2 separate regions of the Homo sapiens genome follow, and region 1 is linked to region 2. Evidence: promoter capture Hi-C in 16 types of primary human blood cells and fetal thymus (Javierre and others, 2016). All regions are on one chromosome and are shown on one strand. Each heading gives the region's core, a stretch centred on a gene start or on the middle of the fragment in contact. The rest is flanking DNA. Distances are from core to core; before and after follow the strand shown.

Region 1 (5,042 bases), core at 33-2,532, 260 kb before region 2:
AATCAGAAAGACACTTCACTGGTTATTTCCCCCCAGCAGTTTTGCTGCGATGAATTTCAGGGGTAGAAGCAGGAATGGTGGAATAAGGAATTGGAATTCAGGCCTACTTGTATAAGGCCCTCCTCAGTTGACCTATACCAGTATTTCTACATTTTTCTTATTTGACTTCTCTTACCTTGTAAAATATATAGAAATCAGTGGTTTCTAGGGTCTGCAGAGTGGGGTGGGTGGCACTAAAATACAGTAGATGTTAATACCCGTCTTAGACTTAATGAATCAGAATTATCCAGGGTGGGATCCAGGAATCTGAACTTTTAACAAATCTCTTTTGTTATTCTTAACTGGTACTCCTCAATTTACTGTTTAGGAATCTTACACATGGGGGAGGTTGAGACACTTAACTAAGCTAGTTGGTGGCAGAAATGAAACTGTGATATGGATCTTCTAACTCCTGCTCTAAAGCTTTTGATTTATAGTATAGTATTAATGAACTTCTATTGTGAACTTGCAGACCGTTTAATATTAGGTTCAATATACTATGTTTAAATGGGAATGAATTTCACAGGGCTTATAGAGCCTTTCCCCATAATTGTAAAATTTTTGCAGCAACCGCTATATTACTGTTGCTACAATTTTCTTTGCTAATTAGGTCTCTTTGCCTTGTAGCTCTCACTTTTAAATTGTTTTTGTTTTGTCATTTAGTAGATCTCAGAGCAATTAACTAAACTAATTCTTCCATCTTTTTTTAAATGGAGACATCTCCTCCTCACTATGGCAGGAAGATCTGTGATTTCTAGTATAACTGCTTGATGTGAGGACAGGGTTACTTGGGAAAGAACTTTCAGCATGAGTGATTTAATTATCTGCCTCCATTAGATAGGTACCTTTCTCTTGCTTGGCTCCTAATAAAGGAACAAGCACTCTCATCCATTTTACGGTTTAAATAAATTTTACAGTTAAATATGACTAGATATACTTTTAGTACCCAAAGTTGTGGATATTTTGTTCCATAAAAGCTAATTACTAATAGAAAATGGTTTGCTAGATAAATTACTTAACTGAAAATATACTAGAAGCTTATTTGTGCTTTCTAAAAAAGTTGATAATTATGATTCACTGGTTAGAAGTTGTAGATTTTACATATCCCTGATGTATAGATGGATAAGTGCAAATAGGAAAACTATGCTCTTAAATTATCATGATTGCTTGAAAACTTGGTAATGCTCAGTTCTCAGTCTGGTTTCATACTAGAAACTCCTGGAAGTTCTTAAAAATACAAGTGACCACATTCTACTCCTGAGAAATTTCTATTTATTTGACCTAAGATGGATCTCCTGCCTCTGTGTGTTATGAAAGCTCCCCAGGTGATTTTAATAAGCAGCCATGGTTGAGAGCCAATGGTCTAATGGAAAGAGAACTGAATTATAATCAGGAAACTTGTCATTCCAGTCTTAATTCTGTGAACTCAGGTAAATCATCTAACATATTTAAGCTTGCATTGTAAAATGGAGGTAATTAATAATGGCCTATATGCCGGATTAATATTTTTACAGTTGAATGAAACTATATACTCAAAAGTGCTTTGCAGTAAAGTGTTATACAGATGGTGGCATAGCAATTAAGATTTACTACGCAATATACTACTGTGAAGTGGTATGTTTAGTCTTTTGTACTTCTTGGCAGAAAGATGCTAGATCCCCTGTGGCAGAAAGAAACTTAGGCTCCTTAGCGATCCTCAGGGTATATTATTATGATTCTTAAAGTTCACTCTGTATTTTTATGTGTACCAGGCTGCTAGTGTCTCTAGGTGATAGGGGGAAAAGGTAGAGGAAAGGGTGGAGTTGCTCCTGCTGGTGATTTTTTAAAATTGTGAGTTCCTATAATTAGTAACATCCTTCTTACATCTTCATAGAGACATGGTTGGTAGCAGTGGAGTCGTTTATATAACTTTACAAACCCTCTCTTGTGTACTCTTTTTCAATGTTATTCTCTTAAATCACTTCTGTCTCTGCTTTCCCTAGTGTTTAAGCTTCACTAACATTTACCTATATATAAATGGATGAGGACAGAAGAGAAAGGGTCCCCAAAGATGAATACACTCATTACTGGTTTCCCAACATGATATAAACCTAGGACTTCACCCCTTGGAGGGATGAAAGTTTACTATGCATAGCATTTCCTGGTGTGTCAGTCTCGGTACAGCCTCTTGCTCAATTCATCAGCTGTTTCCAGGCAAAATTACATACCACTTCTTGAGTGTTTTAAAGCCTCCTAACTGTATATATGTGAGTTCTTTGATATATTGACTTCTTTTTCTTTGAGTCGATTCCCAGTAGTGGCATTGCTGGATCAAATGGTAATTATATTTTTATTTTTTTGAGAAATCTCCATACTGTTTTCCATAGTGGCTGTACTAGTTTACATTCCCACCAACAGTGTATATGAGTTCCCTTTTCTCCACTTTCTTGTCAACATCTGTCTTTTTTAATAATAGGGATTCTGGCTGAGGTATGCTATCTCATTGTGGTTTTGATTTGCATTTCTCTGATGATTCATGAGGTTGAACATTTTTTCATATACCTGTTGGCTGTTTGTATTTATTTTTTTGAGAAATGGCTATTCATATACTTTGCCCAAGTATGAATGGGATTATTTGTTTTTTTCCTGTTGAGTTGAGTTCCTTATCTGTTCTATATATTAGTTCCTGTTGGATAAATAATTTGCAAATATTTTATCCCATTCTGCAGGTTGTCTCTTCACTCTGTTGATTTTTTTGTTTTGTTTTTTTTTTTTTGTGTGTGGGAGCTTTTTAGTTTAATTAATTCCCAATCACTTATTTTTGGTTTTGTTGCCTGATCTTTTGAGGCCTTTGTAACAAATTCTTTGCCTAAACCAACAACCAGGAGAGGGTTCCCTAGATTTTTTCTTCTAATATTTCTATAGTATCAGGTTTTACTTTTAAGTCTTTAATCTACTTTGAGTTCATTTTTGTATATGGTGAGATAATGGTCCAGTTACATTCTTCTGCATGGCTATACAATTTTCCCAGCACCGTTTATTGAAGAGATTGTCCTTTCCCCAGTGTAAGTTTTTGTTGTTTGTTTTTGTGTTTTTTTGAGACAGAGTCTTGCCTTGTCACCCAGGCTGGAGTGCAGTGGCATGATCACTGCTCACTGTGGCCTCAACCTCATGGGCCCAGATGATCCCCCTGCCTCACCCTCCCAAGTAGCTCAGACTACAGGCATTTGCTGCCACACCTGACTGGTGTTTTATTTTTTGTAGAGATGGGGTCTCACTCTGTTGCCTAGGCTGGTTTTGAACTCCTGGGTTCAAGCAATCCTCCTGCCTCAGCCTTCCAAAGTGTTGGGATTACAGGTGTGAGCCACTGTACCCGGCCCCCAGTATAAATTCTTGTTGGCTTTGTTGAAGATCAGTTGGCTGTAACTATGTGTCTTTATTTCTGAGTTCTCTGTTTTGTTCTACTGGTCTATGTGGCTACTTTTATACCATGTTGTGGCATTTTTAAGGATTTTTTTTTTAAGTGGGGAGTTTGAGACCAGCCTGGGCAACATGGCAAAAGCCTATTTCTACAAAAAAAAAAAAAAAAAAAAAAAAAGTAGAAAAATTAGCCAGGCATGGTGGCATGCGCCTATAGACCCAGCTACTTGGGAGGCTGAGGTGGGAGGATTGCTTGAGCCTGGAAGGTTGAGGCTGTGGTGAGCCATGATAGCACTACTATGCTCCAGCCTGGGTGACAGAGCAAGACCCTGTCTCAAAAAAAAAAGAAGAAGAAGAAGAGGAAGAGGAGGGGGAGGGGGGAGGAGGAGGAAAGAAGAAGAAGAGGAGGAGGGGGAGGGGGAGGAGGAAGAAAGAAGAAGAGGAAGAGGAGAGGGAGGGGGAGGAGGAGGAAAGAAGAAGAAGAGGAGGAGGGGGAGGGGGAGGAGGAGGAAAGAAGAAGAAGAAAGAAAAGGGGGCCAGATGCGGTGGCTCAGCTTGTAATCCCAGCACTTTAGGAGGCCAAGGCAGGTGGATCACTTGAGGTCAGGAGTTCGAGACCAGCCTAACTAATGTGGTGAAACCCATCTCTACTAAAAATACAAAAATTAGTTGAGTGTAGTGGCGCACACCTGTAATCCCAGCTACTCGGGAGGCTGAGGCAGGAGATTTGCTTAAGCCCAGGAGGCGGAGGTTGCAGTGAGCTGAGATCGCGCCACTGCACTCCAGCCTAAGCGACAGAGCAAGACTTCATTTCAAAGAAAAAGGAAGAAAGAAAAGTGGTATGAGCACAAGAACTCTAACAAAAGATTTCTGGATGGATTGGGTTAATGGAAAACTGGCAGAAGCCTGGAGGAAGGAGAAGGTCAAGATCAGCTAATAGTAGCTGATAAGAAGTCCTGTATCATTATGAAGAGTATCAAAAGCACCCCTGCAGCCTGGGATGGTTGACTGATAACTATAACTGTAAAACAATATAATCCGATGTGTATCATGACTTAAGAGAATTTGAGAAGAACAGAAAGGTGAATGCCAGTATTCAATGGCCAATGGAACATGTGTTTAGGGACTTTATAGCAATACTTCAGTGCTCTAATGTTCAGGTCATACCTCCCTATCATTCCCTAGGTGGTGTGTTATCTGTTTATATTTTTATCTGCTATCCTAATCTGGGAGTCCTCTGAGTGTAGGGATGACTTATCCATCTTTGTAAATGTCCTCAAAATGCTTGACATATGATGAATATGTTACCACAACACCAGGGGTTCAGTCTAGGTCCTGCTGCTCACAGCACAGAAAGCCAATGACTAAGATGATGATTATTGCCAAGGAAGAAGGCTTTAATTGGGGGCTGCAGCAGACGAGATGAGATGGGAGCTCAGTCTCAAATCCATCTCCCTGACAAACTGAAACTAGGGACTTATATAGCAGGGAAGAGATATAGCAATATGTAAGAAACAGGAACTAGAGAGGGGTAAGGAAGCAATTATGGTGAATGAGGGGCCCTCATCTCATTATCTGGATATGGTGATCTGGTGAGTTCCAGT
Region 2 (5,757 bases), core at 283-2,782:
TAAAAAAATTTATACGATAAAATACACAGCTCTTAGGAGTTCATCCCATGAACTTTGACAATTCTATGTATCGGTGTAATATTTCCATTACCTGGGCAAATTCCCCTTCGCCGGGCCTTAAGCATAATCTACAGAAAAAACTACGTACATAAATATACGTTTACAACTCAATGAGATTTCTAAAGTGAACCCACCTATCTATAATCAGTGTCCAAATCAAGAAACATTACCTGAACCTCAAAAGCCCCCTGGTGGCTCTTTCATGTCATTGTCCTCCCCACTATGCTCATTAACACCATGGGCTAGTTTTTAAATGGAACCACGCAATATGAACTCTTCCATGTCTGGCTTCTTTCCCTCAACTTCATTTTTTTGTGTGAAATTCACGCATGTTGCGTTTCGGTAATTTATTTTTGTACTGTACTTCCGATTCTTTACTACAGATAATGGTCAGCCTCCATTCCGCTAACAGCTTTTTTTCCTCTCCGAGTTGCTGATTCTAATTGCTGCCTTGGACGATCTATAAAGCTGAGTGCGCGCTATGTGACCTCTCAGGGGTCGCTGCCTTGGACGATCTGTAAAGCTGAGTGCGCGCTATGTGACCTCTCAGGGGTTGTTTCCAACCGTGTTGTTGACATCTTGAGCCTGCCAAGGACTAGAATAATCTGAAAACTAGGCTTCTCTGGGGGTCTCACTGAGTGACAGGGTTAGAACCAGAAGAGAACATCGTCTCCAGAAGACATTTCACCATTTTCTTTGATGGTAAACAGGCTCACTTATACCGAATCCAAACCCAGGCGAGAACTACGGACTCTTGAAATGGTCGGTGAAAGGGGCGAAAGCACCAGGAAATCGTGCTTCAACAGTCCATGACTGAAAGGAGGGCCTGAAACTGTGGCCATAGGCGGGCCCTTTTGTTAGGGCCTTGACCTGGGCTTCCGCTACAGGGCCCGGTCACGAGGCCAACGTAGCTCCACCTCCTACGGCGGCCAGTGATGACGCCACCACGTCGGAACTGTTAGACCGCGGTGACGTCTCCACCGCGCCAAACTCACTGAAAATCAAACCGCTACCATTAGGAGCCCTCCACGCTTAACATATCCGTTCTTTCTCGTTTGAAAGTAACCAGGCTGCTCCTCCCCATTTTTCGCCTTCTTCTCGCGGAGGCTGAGAGACTAACCTTACACAACATGGCGGCCTGGTGTGTCTGGTGTCCTAGAGCGGACGAAAGCAGGTGACTCTCTAGTCAACTTCCGACTTGGACTCCGAAGATCGGTACGTTATTTCCGGGGCTGGGTTAACGCAGCGGTTCCGAGCTGCGACTGCGCAGCGTGGCCCAGCGCGGTCAAATTATAATACATAAAAGTTGTCAGGGCGGAGAGCAAGACATTACTCTTCTCGGATTGCCGGTTCGCTCGCGAGACTTGAGCGTTGCTAGGAGATTCGGCAGGCGGGCGGAGCCAGACTCGGCGGGGCGGGGAGGGGTGGGGCTAGGCTCGGCGAGGCGAGGAAGGGTGGGTGGAGCCAGGCTTGGCGGGCTGTGCGTGCTCGCGGTGGGCGGTGGCGGCGGCTGCCTCGCGAAGGTTCGAGATCCGTCGCGTGCGGGAGGCGGGCCGCGATCTTGCGCAGGGTCGGTGTGGGCGCAGGCTGCAGCGCCGCGACTCGTGCGGGTAGGCGTCTGCGCTCGGTTTGAGGGCTCGGCGCGGGGTTTCCTGTTCCTCCTTCTGCGCGGCTGCAGCTCGGGACTTCGGCCTGACCCAGCCCCCATGGCTTCAGAAGAGGTAAGTGGTCCGGCCCCATATTCCTTATGCCCCCCGGCTGGAGCTGCAGCGCCAGCCTCCCGCCCTACCGCCGTTTCCGTGGGCTGAGCCGCCCTGCGGCCACCCGGTCCCGCGCCAGTCAGTGCGCCGCCTTCCCGGGGGACACCTCACTCGCCCCTTGCTGCGCCGTCGGCTCCCCAGCGCTTCCACTCGACCTCGCACCCCACTCGCCTGCTGGGCTCGAGCGGGGGTGTGCGGCGATTATCCGTGCAGGCGGTGCGGGGAGTGGGTCTGGGAGAGCGGCCCTTTGCGCGTGTTCCTCAGGCCCTTTCTGCCCTGGTTTCCCAGCCAGTGGACAGGAAGCTTCATTCAAGCAAAGCTGGGTGCAAACATGAGTGTCGTTCTTGGTAGAGGGCGGTTGGAAGGTGAGTTCTCAGTGCTAGCACTTGAATTCTCCTAGTCAGGTTTTCTCTACACACGAGGAGCTGTGTTACTCTGGGCAAGTTGTTTAGCTTCTCTGTGTCGCAGTAGCATCCATTTCATAGGGTTGTTAAAAAATATGATTTCTAGGTGTTTAAGTCAGTGATTGGCAAACAGCAATCTGCTGTATGTGATTTTTAAAATAAATAACTTGGAAAGTTAGTTGTAATTAATAGTAAGAAAGCGAATGGCCTGTGTTAAAGCTCTGTAAACTCTGAACGTTGGAGAATTAAATTTTGTGGAGACTTAGTTTGCTCAGTTAGAAAATGGGAATGATAGTACTTGTATTGCTCATTTCCTGGCGTAAGTGGGAGGTGAAGACGGGACAGTTATTCACAGTTAAGTGTTGGGTGTGTATTAACTAGATTTGCTTTATGAAAACAAGTACTGGGGAGTCCCAAGCTTTTGTTTTGTTTTGTTTTTGTTTTTTAAACTCAAAATCTTTTCTTTAAATGAAGAAAAACTATGAGGTTTGTGTGTTCCAGTATTAATCTGGGTATCTTGTGACAAGTCTTTTAAGGTAGGTCTTGGGTACTATGTGCCCCTAGGAGATAACTTCACAGTCTTGCAGGTGGATAGCTCAGTGTTAGTCCTCTTGAAAGTAGAGATCGTTCTCAGTTTAGGCACTTAGAAATATACATTTGAGGGCACTTGATTTTTGTTTTGTTTGAGATAAAATTCAAGTTTTTAACCATTTTAAAGTGTACAATTCAGGTATTTGTTTTTTGTTTAAATATATTCACAGTGTAGTGCAGCCATCACCACTGTCTAGTTTCAGGACATTTTCATCACTCCAGAAAGAAACCATGTAGTGTGTTTTAAACAATTGCTTCCCATTCCTCCCTCAGCCCCTGACAACTACTCATCTTGTACTTTCTGTGAATTTGCCTATTGTAGGCATTTCATATAAATGGAGTCACGCTGTATGTGGCCTTTTGTTTTTTGGCTCCTTCAACTTAGCACTAACATTTTCAAGTTCATCCATGGTGTAGCGTGTATCAGTACACATGCTCTTTATGGCTAAATAATATTCTATTATATGCATGTGGCACATTGTGTTTATCCTTTCATCCGTTTATGGACATTTATTTCCACTTCTTTGTTTGAGACGGAGTCTCGCTCTGTCGCCCAGGCTGGAGTGCAATGGCGCAATCTCGGCTCACTGCAATCTCCGTCTCCCGGGTTCAAAGGATTCTCCTGCCTTAGCCTCCTGAGAAGCTGGGATTACAGGCGCGCGCCACCATGCCCGGCTAATTTTTGTATTTTTAGTAGCGACGGGGTTTCACCACGTTGGCCAGGCTGGTCTCGAACTCCTGATCTCAAGTGATCCGCCCGCCCGCCTCGGCCTCTGAAAGTGCTGGGATTACAGGTGTGAGCCATGGCGCCTGGCCTTATTTCCACTTCGTGACTAGCATAAATAATGCTGCTGCGAGTACTGTATCCAAGTTTTTTGTGTGGATGTGTTTTCAGTTCTCTGGGGTATATACCTAGGAGTGGAATTACTGGTTCATATGGTAACTTTCTGAGAAACTGTTAGACTGTTTCCAGAGTGGTTGCATCATATTCCTGTAAGAAATGTTTGAAGCTTCTGAAAGTTTCTCCACATCATTATCAACATTTGTTATTTTCTGGGGTGTTTTATTTTTCTTTTTCGGTTTATGATACCATCCTACTGGGTGTGAAGTGGCATCTTGGGAATTTGATATGCGTTTACCCAATGATGAAGATGTTGAGCATCTTTAATGTTCTTGGTGTCCATTTCTGTGTCTTTGGAGAAATGTGTGTTGAATTCCTTTGCCCATTTTTGAGGCACATTGGTGTTAATGCCTCCTAGTGAAAAATTAGGAAATAGGAAGATAAAGCTTGAATGCCTTATGGGTAGGGATAAAAGAGAAATAAAATTTTTATATACGTAAAACAAACACATGCCAAGAAGGCAAGGAAAATTACATGATAAATTAGATAGGAAACTAGGACATCTTAAAGTATTTGTGCAGAAAAAGCATCAAAGGAATCACCTTTGTTGGTTTCAAGTCTGCCAATAACAGAACTGAGGAACTGTCTCAGTTTTAAGTTTTTTCAGTGGATACTTCATAATAAAAAGAGTACTTTAGAGTCAAAACTGGCAATAAAGAGGGCTTGGGAATTCAGCCATTGGGGGAATCCCTTGCCTAATTCGAAGTACCTTTCTCATTCTGCTAGATAAAGTATTCCTATTTCAGTCAAAAAGCAAAACCTCTTGCTTAGACTTAATATATTTCATTTTACATTTCAATATTTTTATTATGAATTAGGAGTTGTAGAATCAGCGTTTTTTTGAAACCATTACAATAAAAATATTACTTTGAACTGAAACATTTTGGTTCTATGCTCAAAAGATGAGTTTGCAAGATTTTTTGTCATAGTAATATGAGCTGTTCTTGGAAGGGTCGAGAGTGTGGACAAGAGGGTTGGGCAGAGTTGATTTTTTTTTTTTTTTGGGAGACCGAGTTTTGCTCTTGTTGCCCGGGCTGGAGTGCAATGGCGCGATCTCGGGTCACTGCAACCTTTGCCTCCCGGGTTCAAGCGATTCTTCTGCCTCAGCTTCCCGAGTAGCTGGGATTACAGGCACGTGCCACCACACCCGGCAAATTTTTGAATTTTAAGTAGAGACGGGCTTTCGCCGTGTTGGTCATGTTGGTCTCGAACCCCTAACCTCAAGTGATCCACCCGCTTTGGCCTCCCAAAGTACTGGGATTACAGGTGTGAGCCACTGCACCTGGCCAGAGTTGAACTTTTTATACCATGTCATCTGTTATAGATAGGCAAAACTAGGGCATCTGAGTTAAATGAGATAACAAAAGACTTGTAGTAAAAGAAAAGAATTAGTTCTGTTATTGCATTTTATAAGACTATTAAGAAACAGGCTTTCAAACTCTGTTGTGCGTCTGATATTCTGAGTTATAAAGCACTAAAAGACTTTTTTAAATTGAGCTTTTGATATCAAGCTGTGACACAAGATTTTTTTGGTCAAGTTGGTAGTGTCAAGCCAGAGTGTAAAGTTATTGTAAGAAAAGTGAAACAGCTGTTTGGAAAGATCTTGTGTATTTGCAGTATGTCAGAGGGTAATTGGGGGAAAAAAAACTTAGGCTCAATAATTTTCTAACATTGTCTTTAACTCTTGAATTTCATAAAATGTTGCCTCTATCTCTAGAAAGTAGAAAGTAGTAGACTTTAATAGATGATGGATTGGCAAGAGAAGAAAATGAGAACGTGGTGGCTTTTTCAAAAGATAATTTCCAAGAGTATGTTGCATTTTCGGTCTTTTGTCACCTTCTGTGCAACCAACTCCTACACTTCTGAGTGTAAGACTGACCCAGCTTCAGAGCAAGACTTTTCCTCAAAAGCAGAAATTTTTTTTTTTATCTTTTGTCTTAAAAATTAAGACTTTTTTTATGTGAGGTATTTGAGGTGGGAAGATAATGAAGACCAATCAGTGACAGAAAGTGGAGCATTCATTACCTCAGTTAAGTTTGCT

The links. Contacts are between HindIII fragments. The CHiCAGO score rates a contact against its expected background, and 5 or more counts as called.
Region 1: a fragment that was not itself captured here is called in contact with the fragment with the promoter of CACYBP in region 2 in 2 of 17 cell types (total CD8 T cells and fetal thymus); the score reaches 6.2 in total CD8 T cells.

What each region holds. Positions count from the first base shown.
Region 1 is chr1:174,738,265-174,743,306 of GRCh38, forward strand. All of the region lies in intron 17 of RABGAP1L (RAB GTPase activating protein 1 like), which reads left to right. Among named protein-coding and RNA genes, the nearest start is that of RABGAP1L-AS1, 210 kb to the right of the region's middle. The HindIII fragment of the contact is 416 bases long and covers 1,075-1,490 here.
Region 2 is chr1:174,998,415-175,004,171 of GRCh38, forward strand. CACYBP (calcyclin binding protein) reads left to right here and starts at 1,533. Exons shown (of 6, transcript NM_014412.3): 1 at 1,533-1,781. The coding sequence starts at 1,767. LOC105371622 (a long non-coding RNA gene) reads right to left here and starts at 1,232. Exons shown (of 2, transcript NR_188647.1): 1 at 1,181-1,232. RefSeq lists enhancers at 654-863, 806-1,342, 894-1,403 and a silencer at 1,434-1,553. The HindIII fragment of the contact is 3,791 bases long and covers 1-2,121 here.